Linked DNA regions of Homo sapiens: region 1 is linked to region 2. Evidence: promoter capture Hi-C in human tissues and cell types (Jung and others, 2019). All regions are on one chromosome and are shown on one strand. The core of a region is centred on a gene start or on the middle of the fragment in contact, and the rest is flanking DNA. Distances in the headings are between cores, read along the strand shown.

What was found. The method cuts DNA at HindIII sites, captures the fragments that hold promoters and counts their contacts. A contact is called where the count stands out against the background at its distance.
Region 1: a fragment that was not itself captured here is called in contact with the fragment with the promoter of RAX in region 2 in 3 of the 25 tissues and cell types used here (H1 embryonic stem cells, lymphoblastoid cells and mesendoderm cells).

The regions. Positions count from the first base shown.
Region 1 is chr18:59,305,926-59,311,323 of GRCh38, forward strand. The region is part of intron 2 of CPLX4 (complexin 4); the gene reads right to left. Among named protein-coding and RNA genes, the nearest start is that of CPLX4, 10 kb to the right of the region's middle. RefSeq lists silencers at 2,766-2,835, 2,886-2,935, 2,976-3,035. The HindIII fragment of the contact is 4,229 bases long and covers 1,805-5,398 here.
Region 2 is chr18:59,272,204-59,277,280 of GRCh38, forward strand. RAX (retina and anterior neural fold homeobox) reads right to left here and starts at 1,251. Exons shown (of 3, transcript NM_013435.3): 1 at 715-1,251; 2 at 158-411. The coding sequence starts at 1,003. The HindIII fragment of the contact is 4,384 bases long and covers 987-5,077 here.

The DNA.
Region 1 (5,398 bases), core at 2,669-5,168, 36 kb after region 2:
GAGGGTGATGTCTGCAAGCTGAGGAGAGAGAGGGCTTTAAGGAAGAAGAGATCACCAGTGCTAGAAGAAACAAAGAGGCCCCAAGAGAAATTAAGGGAACCACTTACTGTATTTAGACAGACCCTGAACATCTGGAAGAAGAAGGTTTCAGCAGAGCAGTGAGAACTAGTCATTTAAGGGAAGACACCTAAAAAGCCATGTTTACTCAGAAAGTACTGTTTCCTTGTTTTAGATGGGAGAGATTTGACCTCCTTTATTAAGGAGAGGCCAATCAAGAAGGAGAAACTGAAGATACAGGATGTGGAATAATTAGTGGTGTGCGATCCAAATCTAACGTGAGCATCATGGATGACTTTAGGCATTTTAAGTCCTCTGATGACCTATAATTTGACAACTAGAGGAAATCGACATAATCTGGATATGTGTACACGAACATTATAATGACTGGTATAGATACATATACATATACATACTTACTGCAGATTACTGCAATTTGATTACTGCCCTTATTTAATTACTTATCTGATTACCAAAATTAACAATGGTCACCAAAAGACATTGGTATAGCAAATAGTATTGTCACTAACAATTAATAAACTTGAGACCCAAGACCTTTTATTGTTTATCTAGAGGGCTATGGCTTATGTTGCTCCTTTTCAAAGAGTCTACATTTGCTTTTCCCTGTCAGCAATAGAGTGAAACTCTTTTTCAGAGGAAACACCAGCCAAATAATTTCTTTAGAAAATACAGTTCTAATTCCAAAATGTGACATAGTTATCCTCATTAGACCTGACAGCTCCCGGGAAGACATTTTCTCAAATCTGCTCCCCGTCGGGCCTTGGTCAGGGGAAGGGTCTAGAACTGAATCCTGCTGTTATGTAACCGCTGTGGTGGTGACCCTGGGGAATTGTGAATGAGGCACCCAGGGGGTCATCCCTCATTAGCTGGAGGACATGTTAAATTCGTCCAATTCCCTGTGGGCTGTTAATACTATTACTATGAATGCTTACCCAATATGGGCTTTAGAAGATGGCACAGGTTAAGTATTCTGCAAACCTGGCAGGGAGGGGACGGTTATTAGGAACCCACTAGAGTCCCAGTGACCCCTGCTTTCTGTCTTGTGCCGTTTTCTTTGTCAGACAGTCTGTTCAGTTCTAAAGTCTACCACCAGGAATCTGATGCCCAGTTTAGAGGGATATGAGGAGAAGGGGGCACGAAAAAGTCCTGGATGAAGAGTAAGGAGGCTTGAGTCTCCATTTGTCACAGCAAGCTTTGTGACCTTCGGAACGTCCCTACATTTACATGATCCTTATGGTTATGTATTGAGTGCACACATATGGTATGTGCTTTTCCGGATGTAAAAAAATAAGTCTATTGAAAAGAGAAACAGCACTCAGACACTGGTGTCGAGGAGCCAAAGTACTGTGGTCATCCAGGAACCTGAACCTGTTCTAGGAAAAGAACTTAGAAGGTTGGAGGGAAGTGATGGTTGGCATGTTCCTCAGATGACCTTGGAAGCCAAGCCCCAAAGAGGGGACTTATAAGGACTTGGGAATCTGTTGCTCTGTTTCCCTCCGAATACAGCAGTTCCTTTGGTTCAGCCCTCGGTCAGCCCTCCCCTGGCCTCAGTAAGAGCCAGCACTGGCAGGCCTGCCTCTCCTCTCCTTCCCTCCAGTTCTTTGGACAGAGCACCATGCCTTGGGCTTGTCAATCACATCTCTTAGTGACCCAGATGGGCACTGTCTGGCCTTCCAGGGTCTCCTTGCTCCTTAATGAAGCATCTAGGAGACAAAACCCTACACCTCGCATCCCCACTGTGTTTTTCTGATTTTTTTTTTTTTTTTGAAATGGAGTCTTGCTCTGTCGCCCAGGCTGGAGTGCAGTGGCCCAATCTCGGCTCACTGCAGCCTCTGCATCCCGGGTTCCAGCAATTCCCCTGCCTTAGCCTCCTGGGTAGCTGGGATTACAGGGGTCCGCCACCATGGCCGGCTAATTTTTTTTGCCCGGCTAATTTTTTTTTTTTTGTATTTGTAGTAGAGACGGGGTTTCACCATGTTGGCCAGGCTGGTTTTGAACTCTTGACCTCAGGTGATCCGCCCGCCTCGGCCTCTCAATGTGCTGGGATTACAGGCGTGAGCCACCGCGTCCGGCCTCTCTCTAAGGATGGCTTTCTAAAGGTTCCATTACGGAGTTTCCTCTGCGTAATCAGAGACAGACTTTAGGTACCTACAGTTCAATAACAACCAGCAGCTAAGCCACTGGGTAAGTTGGCTGAATTCAGTATTAGAATAAAAAGCATGGCACTGGAGGCCTGGGGCATGATTCTGCCCCCCATAAGCTTCATTTATTCAGTCATCTCTCAAGGCCGAAGATTCCAATTCCTTCAGCCCGCCCTCGATTGCTGTCGTTTCAGAATCTCTCTGCAGCCTGGTCACTGCGGAGACAGCGGAAACTCGGCTGTTTGCGAGCTCCCTCTCCCGTTATGCCATGGGAGGATAGAAAACGCACGATCTGGTCCTTAATAACAAAATAGTAAGGCTTTTTTTTTTTCCTTTTCTTTCTTTCTTTGTTGTTGTTTTGTTTTCCCCCCCATCCCATCCAATGACCTATCAAGACTTTTTTTTTTTTTTTTTTTAAGTCACCTCTAGAAATTGGTTTCTGCCCCTCCCTGGTCCTGCCACCACCCGCAGCCCGGGTTCCGCCTCCCGCGGGTGCCAGTGGCCGCGGCGCTAGGAACACCAGGGGGCGCCGGCGTCGAGGATTCGGGGCCCGCGCTGGCGACCGCTGCGCCCTCCTTGCTCCAGCCAGGATCTGGCTTGGACGGGAGCGGCTGTTCTGCATAGCCTGGGCAGACGTTAGCCTGGGAAACGTGTCTGTCCCCCGCAGCCTCTTTTTCGCCACATGGGCCATCGAAGGGTCCCTGTACCCAGAGCCTCGTCAGTGCGGGGACGCGGGCGGGAGGGTAACGTGCGACAAGTGACAGCGCGGGAGGCAGAGGAGGCGCCCAAGGGTGGGGCTGGTTTGCAAGCGCAAAGTGTTGCACTGGGGTAGGGGAAGTTAGCCACAGCTGGTGATAACTGGACTAAGTGGAATACGATCCAGCTGATTTTTTAAACTTTTAAATTTTAGTTTTTAAACTGCTCCTTGCAGAGCAGGGCAGTCTGCCCAGAGTAGCCGATTTTTCTTATCATATAGTTTTATTAGGTGCTATTTTTATAGCTAGCTACACGGGATTAGAATTTCCATGTGCTTTACAAAAAGCAGGCAATTGTATTATTGGTATTTGTAGTATCTTCCATACCATAGGCACGGTTTTGAAACATTGTGTGTAGAATCCATTGTTACAAATGCAACCAAATATAAAAACGCCCTTGGAGGAGGGGGTCCCCACCTGGAAGTAAACTGCAATGAATGATGGTGTGTACAATGTTCTCAAGTGAAATTCTTATCTGTTTGTTTGGATTGTATTTGGAATTTAGACAGCTACTTGCAGATCTAGGGTCAAACCGTTAGACAACACAGGAGAAATAATATGCTCCCATTTTTTTAAGCCACGTGGAATTCAAAACTGCCCTAAAATTTTGGGGAACAGCTCAAAATATTAAGAGTAGAAAGAGGCCGGGCGCAGTGGCTCACGCCTATAATCCCAGCACTTAGGGAGGCCGAGGTGGGCGGATCACAAGGTCAGGAGATCGAGACCATCCTGGTTAACACGGTGAAACCCCGTGTCTACTAAAAATACAAAAAATTAGCCAGGAGTGGTGGTGGGCGCCTGTAGTCCCAGCTACTCGGGAGACTGAGGCAGGAGAATGGGGTGAACCCAGGAGGCAGAGCTTGCAGTGAGGGGAGATCATGCCACTGCACTCCAGCCTGGGTGACAGAGTGAGACTCTGTGTCAAAAAAAAAAAAAAAAAAAAGAAAAAGAAAAAAAGAGTAGAAAGAACAAATGCCTTGAAAGGAGGAGCCCTGTTGAAGTCCTTTTGTGAACAAGCTGCTCTTTTTCATGGTTGTGGGGCCTGAGTTCCAGTCCTAAGTCTGTCACAGGAGATGTGGCTTATTGCAAAGCTACTTAACCCTCCTGGGCTGCAGTTATCTCAGGTGTAAAATGACGCAGTGGTATGAGATTATTAGATGAGCTTTATGGTCTCTTTCATGGTCTATGAGAAAATCAGGTGGGGTCTCAAATGCATTATGCATTTGAAACAGCTGTAGAAAAGGGGCTATATGAACATCAGTAAGCCATGCAATGAAAGACACTGGTGGGCTCTACTGTTATTTATCAACATCCTTCATGTCGGTCCCTCCCCCTAGCTGGCTTTAGAGAGCAGTAGCCTATGCAGGTATAGCCACAATCATTCTCCAGAGAGGACCTGGATTTGTGCATTTCATGGCTATCATTTTTTCCTCTTTCCATAGTTTCTGTTGGAAAGGCTCTTGTTTCAAAAGATACCCTGGCACAGAGATTTAAGAATTATTTTTCTTGGAAGAGTACTTAAACCTTACTGCTAAGCCTAAGGGTGTTCACCCCTGAAGATCTGGAAGTCAGCAAGACTGCTGATTTACCATTAGTGGAGAAACAGATAAAAGGCTTGGGGCCTTGAGGCTCAGGAACCTCCATTGTTGCATTGATTACACACCTAAGGACTGGCGGTCCTCAAGACCCCTGGTTGTTATTATCAGGAAATAAGACTTTTGTGCCCAGAGATCATAATGTCAATAATAAGAGCTCTATTGTCAGGCGTTGTACTAGGTCCTTTATATTACATTATCTCAGACAAAGATCCTATGAAGTTAGGTACTTCAGCCCTCATTTTATAGATGAGGATACTGAGGCTCAGATTTTTTTTTCTATTGCTGCTGCATAAATTAAGAGACTCAGATATTTTTAAAAACCATGTGATATTGCATCACAGAGCTACAACGGAACCCCAATTCTCCCTAGATCCCTACAGAAGAATAACAGTTGCCAAAAATAAATCTGTAAAAAGCCCTACATTCTGGACGATGCACACCCAGCCAATCGTGTGTGTGTGTGTGTGTGTGTGTGTGTGTGTGTGTGTGTGTGTGAAATTTCTGCTTCATCCCAACAAGTTGATGATGCTTTAATCAGATGGCCCAAGAGCAGAGGCCAGGGGCTTCAGCGCAGTAGCATGAATCCGACTCAATCTTCCTGCCTAGGGCGAGACCACATTGCTAAAGTGAGCCAATGACATCCAGGGAGTTTCAGGAAATTCACCAGACAATGAAAGTGGAAAGGACAGTGTTTAGAAGTGCTTCACTCTTCCAAAATGCAAGCACAGTGAGGAAAAGTTATTAAACCTGAACGGGGCTGGGGGTAGGAAAAGCAAGGCATTCTTTTCCAAGTTCATTGGTTGTGAATGAAATGAGCTTACATTTT
Region 2 (5,077 bases), core at 1-2,500:
CATCGAAGATCTGTGCCTCTCCCTTGAGACTCTGGGCATGCCAAGTCGAGGAAGGACAGTAATAAATGCATGGACACCCGTGAATTCCGAGAAGCATTGGCTGCAATTTGGGCCTCGGGCCCTCCCAGATCCCAGTTCCTCAACCTGGGCGCTTTACCTGGACCCGGACCTCTGGTAGGTTGACCTTGCCGGCCAGCTCCTCGCGGCTGTACACGTCCGGGTAGTGGGACTTCTCGAACGCGCGCTCCAGCTCATGCAGCTGGTACGTGGTGAAAGTCGTGCGGTTCCGCCGATGCTTTTTCTTGGGCTGTTCCTCCTCTGACAGTTTCGCTTCGCCGGTGGCTGGCCCGACGGGCAGCCCTGGGCTCGGCCGTGCCTCCCCGGGCTCCTTGGGGCAGTAGGGTCGAGGGGCTGGGGCGACGAGGCCCGGGAGGGTCAGATGCACTCCCCAAAACACCCTTGGGCCGACCCCGCCTCGCTGTGGGCACTGGCCAGCCCGCCTGCGGGCTCCGAGATGGCCCGGGGAGGTCCGTGGTGAGGGCGGCGATGGGTCCTAAGCTTTCTCTGAATGCAAATTGGAAGCTCCCGCCATAGACGGTCCCCAACCCCGCGCCCAGTTGCCTTAATAAAAGTTAAGGAAGGGGCGCTCTCGTCTGGCCAACTCCTAAGCTCGGGCGCCCGAACGGCCTCGCACAGCCAGGGGTGCGCACTCACCTTCGTACTCGGGGGCGGGCGCCGGGGCTGGCGGCGGGGAGGGCTCGGAGCCTTCCTCGGGCGCCTTGGGGCAGGCGGGCCGCGCGCCCAGCCTCCTATCCCGCTCCTTCGCGCCCCGGGCGCCCCGCTCCGCCGGGAAGGTGCCGAGGATCCCGTCGTCCTTGGTAAACCCCAGGATGGCCTCGATGCTGTGAAGTCGCGAGGTGCTCCCGCCCGGGCTGCGGAGCAGGTGGCCGGCAAGCGAGAAGCTCCCGTCGGCCATGGCTGGCGCGCAGCCCGGCAGGTGCATGGGGAGCGCCGGGAGGCGGGAGGGCGCTTTGGAGACGGAGAGGAGAGGCTCGAAGCCGGGTCTTCCCGAGTGCGGCGGTGCAACCCGACGGGTCCCGACCCTAGGTCAAGCTCCGCGGGCGAAGCCCGCCCGGGCTGCGCACGCTGGGGGTGGCCGAGCGCTCAGCCCGCTGCCGCCTTAGTCCCAGAAGTCGGAAGTTCGGGCTCGGGGTAGCTGGGGCTCTCGGCGCTAAAGGCGGGGAGCCAACTGGCCCTCGGCTCCTCCCCTCTCGCCCTGGACCCAGCCCCTTCTCTCGGCCCCTCCCTCCACAGAGGGGCGTGTCCTCACCCGGCCCAGCCACAGGGTCCTCTAGTGGCCACCCCTGGGCCGGCACTAGGAATATTCCCCTTCCACCTCTTGATCCGTTTTAAGCTTTACAAACACACTCCGGGGATCCGCGGCGGGATGCCTGATGGGCTCGGGAACCTGGTCGCGGCGCACCCCTAGTCCTGCCTCAGTGGGGCCGACGCCCTTGGGCTCATCTCTCCCCTTGCGTTTGTCTCCCTCTACTTCGGGCTTACCCTCTCACTTCAGACTACCCCCTGGGGGTCACCTCCCTCCTTGGACGCACCCCTCCCCAGCTTCAGACTCGCCCCTCTAGCCCCCTCTGGCTCACCTCCGCGGGGCCGCCACCCTGGCCTGTGCCCCCTGGAAGCGCCGAGACCCAGCCGAAGGCTTCCCAGCCCCGCACTCGTCGCAGTTTGAATTTCCCCTCGCTGGCTCCCTTTTCGGGACCCACTCCTTTCTTGGCTGGGTTGTACGAAGTCCCGGACCTCGCGTTTAGTTTGTCCGTCTATATCTGTTGTAACTCCTCCCAGTCCCCTCGGACTTGAGCGCCGGCAGCCTCCCTCCTTCCCCGCAGCGCCCACCCCAGGGCCATTTATGTCCGCAAGTCCGGTGACCTCTAGCGCCCGATCGCCCAGCAGGAGACTGGGAGCCCCGAGTCGGATGTGCTGCCGGGCTCAGGTCCCGCAGGAGACCCACCTGGAGTTCCTCGCTCCCGCCCCTTGTCCTGCGGGGAGGGCGGGCTCCTTTACTGATGAGCAGCGGTGTCGCACTCCCGCCTCCCTCCAACACTCCGGGCCAAGGAGATGGCCCAGAGCTGGCTGGGGAAGGACCTTCTCCCGGGGAAGAGGCCTCTCGCCTCCCCGAGGGTTCAGGAGTAATTGGCTTGCAGTTCTTTCTCCTTTGGACCCCCTCGAGGCTTCCGTGGCCCACAGTGACTGATCGGCCACTTGGAAAGATGATTGGATAGGGTGAGTGTGTTTCACCTCCAGCAGCGCGGATGGACAATGGCGCTGTGAACGTCTCACCCCTCAAATCTGAGGCGAGACCCGAGGCGAGCGCTTGGCCTTCCCTGAACTGGTGGCCTGAACCGTGAATTAAAATGCTTTCCTATAAAAGCTCAAGGACCTAGAGGACAATATCCCTAAAATCTCCTTTTCAGTAGGCGCTCTGATCTCCACAGCAGGGGTGTCTTCTTTATCCCGCTTGCGTTCAGACAAGCGTTTGCTGCGTCCCTTTAGAGGGCAAGGCAACCGTCGAGGGCCACGTCGTGGGCATCAAACAAATTGGGAAAGGCCAGGGCCGTTGGCCTGGTGGAGTTTAACGTCCAGTCTGGAAGACAAGACAAAGGAAGAGGGAAAACACACATCCTCAGATCCCCAACCTTTAAATTGGTGTTAGAAGGATGTTTGCGGAGGACAAGTCAATTTCTTAAGGATCATTCAATGGTTAATTCCCCATGATGGGCATATCTACTTTTAATAAAACTATATAATGGCAAACTAAAATAAGGGCAAGCATGTGACTGCAGGAGATAGAAATTGAACTAATTCAAGTCAGAAATTATCTTTTAAGAAAAAAGCTAAAATTAATGAAAGTTAATAGCACTTTACAGTGTTCACATATTACTTTATTTACTTATTATTTATTTGTCTGTTTATTTTAGAGACAGGGTCCCTCTCTGTTGCCCAGGCTGGAGTGCAGTGGCATGATGGTGGCTCACTGCAGCCTGGAACTCCTGGGCTCAAGCAATTCTCTCGACATGTCACTTTGTAGGTTTCAGAATCTTCTCACATTCTTCATGTCATCTGATCTTCACAACCTTGTGAGGTGAGCAGGACAGACATATTGGTCCCCATTTTACAGAAGAGGAAACTGAGGCTCAAAGTGATACAGCTATTAAGTGGAAGGGTCAGGACTAGAACTCAGGCCACTGACTCCTTGTCCAGTGTTTTCTGCCTGCAGCTCATTTGTAATTATTATTGTAGTGTGTGATCTTTTTGAAAAGAATCAAAGCCCATCTTAGCCTGCAGTCTGTCTTTAATCCTTCCCTGAGACTGGATTCTGCATCTAAGAGGCGGAGGTAGAAGCAGTTTAGCTCCCAGAAGAAATAAAGTCAGAGCCTATAGAGAGTGGGCTTTGGGTACCGGCATCCAGGGCAAATTAACAAACCCTCTGGAAAGTCCCCTGACAGACCAGGTTTTGCCTCCTCCTCCGCCCCTCCTCCACCTTTCCAGGGCCCACAAATGGCCTGGTGGCACCCGAAAAGGTCTGACTGCCAGTGACATAGACCAGGTGGCTGACGTGCTGAGGTGGTGGTGATCAGAGGGCAGCTGTGGGGATAATTAATTGGTATTTGTTGTTCCCCCTCTGACCGAGAATGCTTTTTATGCAAACTTCCCCAATATTAAATTGATCTCGATAATCACCGCTAAACAAAGATTGGCAGCGTTTCCTTAAGCTCCTGCCCACACGCTGCTAAGGGGTTTATGGCCTTGTTTTCCAAAGTTAATTCCTCTGGAACTGCCCAGCTCCTCCTAATAAGTCCAGGTGAGGTTAGCTTTTATTTACTGTTTGTTTCAGAGTCTGGGGAAAAAAGCAGAAAAGACTTCAACAGCCACTGGCGAGGGCAGGGGTGGTGGTGATGGGGGTGGGGGAGACAGGGCAGAGGAGGACAAGGGGGAGTTGGGGCTTCCTTTGTGCAGGACATAAAGAGCTAGTCAGTACCATTGTGGGCACGGTGGAGGGTACTCCAAGCAATCAGCCGGGGGTCATTGTTAGGGGCTAATCTACGTGTGTATTTCCCAAGAACTCGATTAGGGAAGATGAATGGACTGGGCCATGTCCCTAATTCTTCTAGCATGAAGCTGCATTTTTCCAGCAGTTAGGCTAGCTCATAATCAGCCCTGCTTCAGCAACAGTAAGGAGCCTGGCTTCTGAACCCCACCTCTGATTAATTCATTAATTCATTAGATGGATCAAAGAAAACCCCTCCTTCCATCCCCCACCTGCGGCCAACCTTAGACACAGCTAAAGCCCCATTAAACTTCGGATGGTTGGGAGACACACATTTCCAAACGTGAGGAAGTTGTAGTATAAAGCGACTCCTTGATCGTGGCTGTATGGAGAAGGTCCAATTTCTGGAAGTATTCTGGATGAACAGTCTCACCTACAACACGGGGGAGACATGCATATCCCTGTGCACTGGACGGAGAAGGAGAGGGAGAGCGGTGAATTAAGGACATTCAGCCACAGTCTCTAGTCATTTCACCTCTCAGCGATGTTTTACATTAGGGTGAAAATGTCTGTGGAAAGGCCTATGATATATCAATTCGTAAAGTGTATCAAATAAACTTGATTGTCTGCATGTAGATTTTCCCCATAGCAGATGTATTTTAATCCTGGAATAACTCCCCCTGTGTCACGCCATATTCGAGGACCTCCTCCTCCCACTAGCTGATACACGTGCAAGAAAGGCAACTTACTTTTAGTTTTAGCCAGAGCAAAACACAACTCATATAATCACTAAACACGCACACACACCATACACACACACTGAAGTTCAACAAATTCAGTTGTCAAGAGTTAAGAATACATACAAGAGCTACTATTTATTGAATGCTAAGTACATGTCAGTGGGTATATGCCATAAGCTTTTGAGTATTATTTTACATGAATTGCCCAATTTAGTTCTTACGATAATCCTATGATGTAGATGCTGCTATTATTATTATTATTAGAGACAGAGTC